Linked DNA regions of Homo sapiens: region 2 is linked to region 1. Evidence: promoter capture Hi-C in human tissues and cell types (Jung and others, 2019). All regions are on one chromosome and are shown on one strand. Each heading gives the region's core, a stretch centred on a gene start or on the middle of the fragment in contact. The rest is flanking DNA. Distances are from core to core; before and after follow the strand shown. Region 1 holds the start of CNOT6L (CCR4-NOT transcription complex subunit 6 like). Region 2 has its middle 16 kb from the start of CXCL13.

What was found. The method cuts DNA at HindIII sites, captures the fragments that hold promoters and counts their contacts. A contact is called where the count stands out against the background at its distance.
Region 2: a contact is called between a fragment that was not itself captured here and the fragment with the promoter of CNOT6L in region 1, in 1 of the 25 tissues and cell types used here (hippocampus).

What each region holds. Positions count from the first base shown.
Region 1 is chr4:77,815,552-77,821,297 of GRCh38, forward strand. It overlaps CNOT6L (CCR4-NOT transcription complex subunit 6 like), which reads right to left and starts at 3,817. Exons shown (of 12, transcript NM_144571.3): 1 at 3,753-3,817. The coding sequence starts at 3,757. RefSeq lists silencers at 3,114-3,513, 3,594-3,663, 4,154-4,253, 4,294-4,453, 4,714-4,863. The HindIII fragment of the contact is 8,896 bases long and covers 596-5,746 here.
Region 2 is chr4:77,618,647-77,624,182 of GRCh38, forward strand. No RefSeq gene overlaps it. Among named protein-coding and RNA genes, the nearest start is that of CXCL13, 16 kb to the left of the region's middle. RefSeq lists a silencer at 125-224. The HindIII fragment of the contact is 4,517 bases long and covers 1,496-5,536 here.

The sequences.
Region 1 (5,746 bases), core at 2,567-5,066:
TAAATATATGCTAACATCTAAAATAACACCATGAAATGCCCCTTGTAGCAGAGATGGCCAAGCTTTCCACCTGCCAGGGACATTTCCCACTCCCCTTGCATTCAAATAAGACTCTGTGACAAATCTTGCCAATAAAATTTGGAGGAATGTTTGTCATTTAAGTCTGGAGTTTCTTAAGAAATGGTCTTCAGGCAATAGGGAGGACTCCAAGGCCCTAAGAAATGGTGGAGTCACAAGATCTAAGTTGTATGAGTCCCTAAACAACATAAGAGGAAAGCCACAAGAAACCTGCTAACCAGGAGCACCTGCACTGGAACTGTCATGAAAGCAAGTAAACTGTCATGAAAGCAAGTAAACATCTGCACTGGAACTGTCATGAAAGCAAGTAAACTTCTTTGAAATTTTGGAATGTATTTATTACTCTGATTAGCATTACCCAAAGTAATACATACAGAAATTCCTAAGTATTCCAATTCTCCCAAATTAAAGACATTAATAACAGATATTTTGGAAAGATTGCTTAAAAGCCCATTTAAGTAACATTAACTTTTAAAATCTAAACAAGTTTCCACCTTGATTTTGTTGTAACATAATTCCTTTAGTCTAAATAATAACCTTAGTACTTCCACTTCATATCCAAATATCTTTATAGTTCAATATCATCTGTTTTCATGATTACTACAGGGAAATGTTCTTCCCAATTCTCCCAAATTAAAAAATATATATATAAAGTCTTTTAAAATAATTCATAAAGTCCAATGAAAATTACTTTACCAAATACTAAATAAGAGCAGATTCATTTCTATTTCTTTGTTTCTAAGGTATTAAAAAGTATCATTTATAGTTTTAAGGTAAGAATTATTCCTTTAAATATAACCACATGGCAGAAGATTCTGTTCAATGTAAATACACACTCCCACAACACACACTTTAAGAAAATCACAATTTGCATTCTAATAGTTGCCCCTAGTTATTTATAAAAATTCAAGCCCCTCAATGATGAGAGCTTCCCCCTCCCCATCCTGTGACTCTTACCTTCACAGAAATTTTTATATAAAAATATGCATAAAAGCTATACTGAATGTGTTGAAATTTTAGTTTGAATTTTAGAAAATAATATTTTTTAAAGCTTATCATTATTGATACAAATAAATTACGTAAGCCCTACTGGGAAACCCGGCATTTGTAAATAGGGCCATGACAAACTTAAACCAATCAAACTCCCACATTCTCTGTCCTGTCTTTTCCCAAAACAAAAAGAAAACAATCTTTATGTTAACTTTTCTGTTATCTTTACCTTAAATTCCATACCTCTCCATGACATTATTTTTTCCACACAGCAGTTAAAATTTAATGAACACATTTCCTACTCCAGAGAAAATACTAAAAATGGAAAGTTATTGAAAATTAAGTGGACAGAGGATTTTACCTTATATTCAGAGAAATATTCTAAGAAGTTTTATTTACCAAATCAGTCAACATGAGCTAGCATTTTTCGTAGCATTTAAACTTTGGGGATCTATCTAAATTTTGGTTCCTTGATCCTTTTTAATGTTTAACTGTATTGAAACATACATGTGCTATATAGAGGTTGAAAATTTTTTTCCAGGGCTACAAAACGAAAATCATAAAGAATAATGAAACTGAGAGATGGTCTATTTGAAAATATGAAAAAAAAATTAAGTATGACTATTTTTATAAATAACTAGGCTATTTTAATGACTATTTTTATTATTAGAAAAAAACTTCTTATATACATTAAAGTTTATATATATACCTTTTGTATACTGAAGGGCTCTGAAAGATTCCATTGTCTTTTTTACGTTATAGTTACTTAATATTGCTCTAAATAATTAATCATATTTGTGTTTGCAAAGGTTCTTCAATGCCCATAGTCAGGGCTGCAGGAGGCAGAACTAAAATTTAACTAAGCATCTACTACATGCCAAACATATGTTTTCTCATTCTATTCTCAAAACGACCTTACTATAAAGGTATTAGCTCTCTGTGACTGATAAAACTGTGGCTTATAGATATGTTACCTAAGGTCAAACAGCTAAGGAAAAATCACACAGCTGGGAGGCTAACTGAAGTCTGTAAAACAAGTCCTTTTCCCACTAACTACGTATGTTAAATTGTTTTTCCAGTAGTGGTAATAGAGAACAGCTCTTCGCCCCTCCTTCTCTTCCCTCCACTTCCCCGTGAACAGCATACACTATTTCTTTGTGAGACCAGGTGCAAAGAGCAATCTCTGGCCATGACACAGAGTACGGCCTACAAGGATCGAAACTGTATTATGCTTTTATCCACAGCACGGTTCTAGCTAAATGATCTAACTACATACAAATGTAATGAGGTTGGAGTAGAAAAGCACATTAGCAAATAATTATCCAAATGCCATTTGTATTTGGTTCTGAAATGTACTGTAGACCTATTGGCAGCAGGTTTATCTTTACAACTGGGTTTTGCTTAGGCTATTCTCAAAATAGCTTTCCAGCAGCACATACTGAGTAGACAACAGAGGTTGCTTGATCTAGTTTTTGGAGACTGAGGAAAACATGTTTGTTGAGCCTATCTTGATTGACAAGATAACTAGAGGCAATACGGTAAAATGTAACACTGTGCTTCCAATGTGTACAAACGGCTCAGCTAAACTCCCTGAACACAATCCACCTAAACAGTCTAAGCTCAATAGCCGACCGAGTTAAGCAGGATGACAGCTCCAGTAACTTCCTCTTCCTCACCCAGCTCCTCAGCTCGGCGGCGCGTACACGCCTCTCCCCCTAGGAGGCAGGATAAAACAATTTCAAATGCACAAAATCCATCCAATCCCACAGGCCAGGAAAGCCAGTTTCCCTTTCTTCCTCAGCCCTTCCAAGAAAATGTTTGTCTAATTAAAAAAAAAAAAATCTTACCAACGGCAAAGTATTTGCAACAAAAATCCAAAATATTTACTCAGTCCCTCCACACAGCCTTAGGGGAAGGATGAAAAGAAGGGAACACGACACCGCGTATTCCCAAGACTGACTGTTCTGATTCACTTTCCTCCCTCGGGTCCCACAGCCGGCCGGGCGAAGGCTTGCAGTTGGAACGCCAAAATAAGCCTTCGCCTCTCAGGAGACGCGGAGGCGGCCACGGCGACGGCAATCGGCGAGTCCCGCCTCCGACCCTCACCTGCCCAGGCCCGAGGCAGCGCCGTGGGCTCGCGCGGGCTCGCCGTCCCGGGAGGCGTCCGGGGAGGTGGGCGGGCGCCCAGGCAGTTAGGCCGCGCTGCAGGCCGGCGCGCTTCCTGCCGCGGCCGGGGAACGGCGGCCCCGGGATCAGCGGCGCGGCACCGACCAGCAGCTCTCCCAGCCCCGCTGCCGCGCGTGTGCCGCACTCACTCAGCCCTCCCCGGCCGGCCCCCTAGGAGCAGCTCTCACCTGCGAGGCTCGGGAGCCGCAGCCACAAAGCGGGAGGGACACGCCACTCTGGGGTCCCGGCCCCGGGCCACCCCCGACACACACACACACACACACACACACCCCGGAACCTTCGCCCGCCTCTGAAGAGACGCGGGTCAGCCCCGCCGCCCCCTCCAGTCACCCGACACACACCCACTCGCCGTGGGTCCTCGGGCCGCCTCCCCGCCCGCCAAAGTCCCAACTCGCACACCCACACGCACATTTGTCCCTCTCCCACCTCATTTCCCCGGGGACGCGCTCCTCTTCCCAACACTCTCGGTCCTACTCGGAGGCAAAAGAACACTCTACCTCATTCTCTTCCTCTGGCCCAGAAGCAACAGCAGCCATTTCCCCGCGGCAGGGGAAACACACACACAAACACGCGCGCGCGCGCGCACCAGGCCCCCACAGATGCTTCCCCTCCAGAGCCGCGGCCGCAGACGCAGACGCAAACACAAACACCCACGGCGGGCCTCGCTCCCGCCCGCCCCGAGGGGAAGCCGCGGCGGCACACAGGGCCCGTAACCGGGGCTCGCGGGCGGGCGCGCAGGGAACCCGGGCCCGGGGTCTCGGGGGGCCCGCGCCCCCTCCTCACCTGCATTCAGCGCGCCGGGGTCCGGGCGGCGGCGGCGGCGGCGGCGACGGGGCGGCTGGTGCTGGTGCTGCGGCGGCGGGGGAGGCGGCGGCGGCGGTGGCGGCGGGGCTGAGGGCAGCAAAGACATGCAGGCAGCCCGCCGGAGGGGAGAGGCACCGGCCGGAGGGGATGCGGGGCGGGCGGGCCGGGCCGGGCCGCCTGACGAACGGCAGAGGCGGCGGCGCGGAAGGCGGCTGAAGGGAGCGAGGAGACAGACCGGGGGTCGGGAAGGGGGACGAGGGCCGCGCCGCCGGGCTTCGAGGACAGTGACCCCAGGCGCGCAAGAGAGGCCCCGCGGCCGCGGCCGCCGGCGCGAAGGCCCCAGCCGAAGGAAGCTGCGCCCCCGCAGGGCCGGAGCCGCGGCTACTGCTCCGAGAGCCACGCAGAGCCTGGCCTTGGCCTTGGCCTCCTGGTGCTGGGGCTGCCGCCGCTGCGGGGGTTGCCGCTGCGCCGGGTGCTGCTGGGGCCGAGGTTGAACAGAGACGCCAGCTTTCGGTGCCTTCGCTCCCGCTCACACACGTTCACACCCCCGAGGGCCGGGGGAGAGGCGTCCGGGCGATATCGGTATTGAGATTAATAACAAGGTGCAGAGAGTGCGAGAACGAGGAGGGTTGATTGACGTGGAGGGGCTGGCGGGAGTCAGTCACTCCCCGGCGCGGAGGGTTGGGGTGAGGGGAAGGAGGCGGGGCGGTGACGGGGCGGAGCTCCTACGCAGCGCCTTGGCCCCGCCCCCCGTGCGCCGCGTTTTGTCGCGGTGAGCGCGCGGAGGCCCGGGCTTCTTAATGGTTTTCTGTTTTGCTCTGGCTGTTTTCTCACTCTTTTTTCCTGGCCTGAGCGAGGAGCGGGGCTGAGAAGAGTGGTAGAGTTTCAGAAACCCACATCCACAGAGCCTTGGCGAAGAGACGGGAAACCGCCTCACCCCGGGTTCTTGTGTGGGCGCTGTTTACTGCACCCTCCTCGCCCGAGGCGACCTGACAGCGAAGCAGAGCGTAGGTCTAGGTGGCTGAGACGCCAGGGGAGGTGAAGTGACCGAAGGAAATGTTTCCTGACATATTCGGTGGATTTTTTTTAAAAACATATAGCATCTGTAAGTTGTATCGTCAAAGGTAAATAAAAGAACCTGTGACGCTCAGCGATAACCCGGTCCTATTTTCTAATTCTCCCTTCTCGTTGTAGACTTTAGTTTGTTGTTTGTAGCTTATCCATGCCATCTACAGAATGAAAACATCCAAATGCAAACTAGAAATAGTAGTGTTTACTTGGTGAACCTGGCTGTGATACTTTAAGTTTCTGGGGTTTGTTTTTGTTTTTGTGGGCCAGCTTCAGCTTTTTTGGGCCAGCAGTCCAAAAAGCAAATTACACCGGCTGTGGAGGCAGAGTACTGCTGTTGCAGTTTTGCACAATTTTAATCTCTTTCTCAATGCATGCCCGGGCTCGTGTATTTACCAGTGTTGGTCAAGGGTATATTAGCAATGTTCAGTATTTTTTCCCCCACAGGAGTGTTTAGCACACTAAGCACGTTGCGTTGGTTGCAATTCATCTTAGGCCTTATTACTGAATGTAAAATGCCTTCATCTCTTGGGGGAAAAGGTGCGGTGAAAATGCAAATCATCATTTAGCTAAAACTGAACAGCTGTTACAAGAGTCCATAATTGCAGAACTATTGCAC
Region 2 (5,536 bases), core at 2,504-5,003, 200 kb before region 1:
TCCCAGCGAGGGCCTCAGCTCTGTCTCTGACACAACCTGTGGTCTCGGGGCCCTTCTGTTCCTCATCCACTCCTGAACAAACTGTCCTCCCCACAAACCCCAAGACCAGCCCAGGACAGGTCTTGTGGAAACAGTCTGGTAACCTCACAGGGCTCTGCAGCCGTTTCAAGGAGGTTCTTTAGCACCCTCTGGTGGCTACTGCCAGAAATACCATGTTCAAATTGAAGAGGGCAGTGAGGGCGGTGACATTAACGTTGGACCGGATTCCCTGCTTCCTTTTCCATTCAGTCAGACCCTGAAGAGTGTCTCCCAGGGATTGCGGACAAGGAAATCAGGTGATTCTTTTCTATCGGTGCCCAGACTCGGGACTCCACGGTCTTCACTCTTAAAGTACGGCCTCCCAACCAGCAACATTGGAGAATCGGAATCAGAACCTACATTTCAACAAGAAACAGTGATTTATATGCAACTAACACTGAGAAGCTTTTTTCCCTTATATTTTGTCTTTTACATTTCTCCCTACCTCCTCACTGCCAAAAGACAATATACAATCAATTTTCACAGGTAAGCCCTCATTCTTCAAGTTAGGTCTTCCCCCAAGCTAAGGAGAAGGAAAAGAAGTAGAAGTTAGAAGATTTTGAATCAAAATTTGGTTCTGCTATGATTCACTAACATATTCAATTCTCTGAATCTCATTATTCTAAATGTTCAGATGAAAATAACATCTAGCCCTTATGGAACTAAGAATAAACTCATTTTCAAATCAGCTAACTTGGGGTCATTACTGGGATTCATAAATGCCAGGAAATTAGGATTGTTCAATTTCTGATGCCATTCCACTGGCCTTCTAGAAATGGTCATGTCCAACCCTTTGACTTCAAGCCGCAGTGCTCTGCTGGCATCCAGTGGTGAATGGTGTAATGTGGAAACATCAAACATGGTAATGCAGTGTACCCTAGAACTGACCCAGGAAGATGAAACCTAAAACCAGCAAACACAGCTTATCATATGACCTCCAGAACAGACCAAAGAGAGGAATAGAAGAAATGTGGCTACCAGCCCAATGTCAGCTGAAACTAGCAGCAGATAGAGACTTTATTGTTCTGAGCAAGACAATCTATACCAGTTCATTATCAGCTGCCAGGTGCCAAGCTAAAGTAATCTGTGCTCGATTTTCTTTTATGCATCATCCCAAATTAGATGTAAAATAATTGCCAAGAGTTCAGTCATGCTGAGACCCATTATTCAGTAATAAAATTGACATTTCTAAAGTACTTTATCACAAATGGCAGGTTAGTTCACACAGCGTTCTTGCCTGAATCACGAGCCCCAGCTTTGTGTCTTTCCATTTGCTTTATTTGCATGTTCTGCTCTTTCTACCTCCCACCTCCTAGAAATTAAAAATACCAGTAAGCAAAGAAAGGCACAGTGACTCTCGCTTTCAATTAAGGAGCTATTTCATATGCAGTGGTCACTTTTTATCAGTGCAGAATGGTGGACATCCCTGATAAGCAATCATGGTGTCCACAAGGACAGAGGACATTTTTAATTTTGCTGGGCATTTTGCTTAGCTTTGGAAATTCTTGTATGTTTTATCACTAATTTCAACTTATAAATTTCCTGCCTAGGAGCAACTTCAATGAATTCCGGTTTGGAAATATCCAGCAGATCTTTTTTTTTTTTTTTTTAATGAAAGCATCTCCCCACATTCGCCCACCTAAGATAACTCAGAGGCAGATGCACTTTTCACTGAAGTTAATGAGAATCTGAAAACTGCAATTGCAATGAGGTTGTAAACTGGGGTTAGCAGGATTCATGTTGCCGCAATTCATCTAACCTAGATTTAAGTCTCTGGAGTTATTATTTTTTCCCTCTTTGTTAAAAGCAAACATTTTTACAACCTCCTTATTTGTATACTGTTTTTATTATCCCACTACCCTTATGAAATTAATGAAAGAGAGACTTTTTTCTAAGTACTTCTTACGGAGACTCTTGAATGTGGACCTGCTGATTCCTCAGGGAGCCCACCCAGCCACTTGGGCCATGTCCCCCCGACTCGTGGTGCACATGTGAAAGGCAGGTAGGGCAGTTCCACTTTCTACAAAGGCCTGTGATTCCTGGAAACTCTGGCCAATTCTAAATCCCACTGACTGGAAGGGAACTTGAAGTCTCCTCCAAGTCTCTTTTTTCACAAAGTAAAGAACGAAGGTATTTTCCTAGCAAAAGCTAAAATTCCAAGGAAGATAAAAATTGAGGAAGTATCCCAACTCTTTGTTGGCACCCTCCATTGTCCACGTGCTCTGGCTTTGCACCCCGGAGTTTCCTCAAAACAGAACTGCAACCTCAGTGTGGACCTGGGACTAGTAAGATCATCCAGCCCATTTAATGTAAGTCATTTGTGTAACTGGGAAAGCCTTGGCCAAAATCTGAGGGGGTTTTTGGCAATGCTAAAGGCAACATCAATTAACAACAAAAATGCTTCCTTGTGTCCTGCCACCTTAGGACAAGCTTTACAATTTTGACATCTGGCCCCGTGCTCTTATCCAACCTGGGAAGTTGGTGGTGTGTTGGTGTGGCATCTTACTAAAGGCAAAATGATGACTTGTTTGTTGTTTATATTCTGTACCTGCTTGATTGATAAGCTTAGGTTTTGTTTTGTTTTGTTTTTTTTTTTTTAAGTCCTTTTCTTGTATCATCTCAGGTTGTGAGCAAAATCTTGGAAGCAATTTTTTTAGTTTGCTTTTTCTGTTTACTTCTCAGTGTTCCAGTACTGGCAGGTTTCTATTTGCTTTTCCTATTTGCTTTTTTGTGTTCTAGGACTGGCAAGACAAGGAGAATGATGTCTAGCAGGATCCCACTTCATCCTGTCCATTTCTGAGACAGAAATACTAAAAGGAAGTGAGTCTAGGAGAAACCTGGTGTCACTCTCTAGCTCTGTAACATCAAAGAAGCTTATTTTATTAAAAGGTTTCTTACTTAAAAAGAAATCACTCCATTTATGAGTCTCAACTCCCTTACCTTTGGGTGAGAAGTGATATAGACAATTGCTAAGGCACTATCTGGTCCTAAAACTCACATCCCTACCCTTCCCACAGCCTCCCCTCCCCTAAATACTCCCTGTCCAGGCAAATGTTGGTATTGCCATCCATTAAAATTAAGCTGTTGTGTCATCCTTGACCCCCCCACCAACAACAACCTCCCTTTTTAAATCATTCACCAAGAGTGATTTCATTTCCCCACCTCCTTAATATCTCTGGGATCCATCCACTTCATTTCCACCACTGCATCTGGCCACGTAAATGACTGCTCCTTACTTGGGGAAGTGACTTTACAAGCCAAGGTCATTCAGAATTAAATTTACAGATGATGGAATAAATCAAATTCATGTATTTATAAAGTGTAAAAGAATCTGGTCTCTCAGGAAAACATGACTTCAGTTTGAAGTGTATCACTAATTTAACTGTGAGTTTAAGCAAAAAAGTTTAATATAAATTTTAAGGATATTGGAATGTTTAAGAAAACTCAACATGAAAAATGTATGATATTATGTATTTGATTAACAAGATTTTCATACGTGGTCAGGAAGACTTGTTAGGGTTGTAATTTTGTCTTGCATAAGCATTTGAAATAACTAGCAAAAGTGAAATAAGATATTTATTCTAAAATCTTGAAAAGAATGTATTAAAGCAAATTTGTAAATTAGTCTGATTGTTTAAAGACAGTTATATTCGTTGGGTGGAGTTCATTAACATTGATTAAACAGCATGTAAAAGTGATTATTAATATTATATAAACATTAGAGTAAGATTAGTAGGCTGAGCTTGATGAAAATGTAAAATTGATAAACCTAAACTTTAAAACTAAACATTAATTCTGAACTCAAGCAAATATTAACAATCCTTTCTATACTCACGTTCCCTTCAGACCTTAAATTCACTGACAATTGTAAAAAGAGTTCTCTTTCAGTCATGGAAATGCTCACATTTAGGGACTTGGTCTGGAACATCTTAATATGCGTCTATTGTCTCTTAATTAAATACACAAGTGCAAAGTCAAACCAAGTTCTAGAGCATATCAAATCTCTGATTCCAATCTAACTTTTCATGATTTATTTTTTATGATTTATGATTTTGCAGGCCAAATGTATTCCAAAAACAGAGAAAATGTTTTAGCAACCTGATGTTCTCCAAACTATGATCTAGGCTTTACTAAAAATTTGTCTCTTGTTCTGCATAACTAGATCTACAATTACATAACTACATAACTACATCTTAGCACCCTTTTTATCCTGCTGGGATTTGTTACTGGTTGGGTGATCTTCCCTAAAACATAGACTTTACAGATTGATACGATCTGTAAAAACAAACTAAATTACCCTATGAGAAGGATGCTTGCCAGGTCTCAGAGCAGGATAGCGGCTTCTCTACACTCACTTCGCTGTCTTCACCCTCACCATCAATGTTTATTGTCCTTTCCAATTAATGTGCTTTATTATTTTAAACTCAAAATAAACAAGCAGTGAGAACTGAATAAAGGATTCTTCTACTTTACAGATTATCTCTTCGTTTGCCTTAAGAAATTTTGGAAGAAATACAATTTGCTACATTCTGACTCATAGCCATGCATAAGCTTATGGAGGGGGAAAGTTCACGGGGAGAGCCAAGTCTTCATAATGTCCTCTAATTATGTGTGGAACTAAATATGGAAAAACTAAGCATGTGTCTTGTCCACATATATAGACATCTACAATTTGGATTATCTCTAGTTTCTTTTTCTCCTCACACAACCTCCCTCAATAGATGATTTTATGTACCTATAATGCTTTTCCTTTATAGGAGGTGGAAAGTGGAAAGACTCAAGGAATAGCCTCTTGTGGCTTCTCAACAGGACACTGTGGGCATTTTTATTCCTGGCGCCTGACTCTCCTGCACATTAGGGGATGCTTCTCACATCTCTAGGCCAGAGCCACCAAATGCTGTCACTCATTGGAAATTTGTGGGGGCATTTTGTTTGTTACCAACACCCCGCCTGTAAGAGCAACTCCCTCACCTTCTGCAAAATTTGCAGGACCTCAGAAGAACAGGGAAGGCAGCGACCACTATTAACCCCTTAACCTTAGCACAGGGGCCCAGCTCTTCACCAGGTCTCTGCTTAAAAGAATGAGTGGCCTTTTAAATAAATAAAACAGCAAAGCTAATCTTTGTAAATATTTCCTACCCCATTCTTTGCCAATAGGCGCAGAGCCCCAGGAGAAATGAGAGGTGGGACCTTATGTTGTGAGTTAAGTTTGAACAGAAAAGGAGATTGTAGAACAACATTTGAGTTGGAAGGTATCTTAGTAGTCATCTAATCTAACACCCTCACTTAAGAGGTAAAGAAAATGAGGGTGTGAATCACTACCTGTAAAACATGCAGCAAGTGTCACCTATCACTGTGATAATTAGTAATTATTACACTTATTGCTATTACACCTGTCTACTTTAAAACTGCTTAGCCTCCTGGGAGGCTGTTTTAGTTCAGGCTTCTGTTGAAGCCA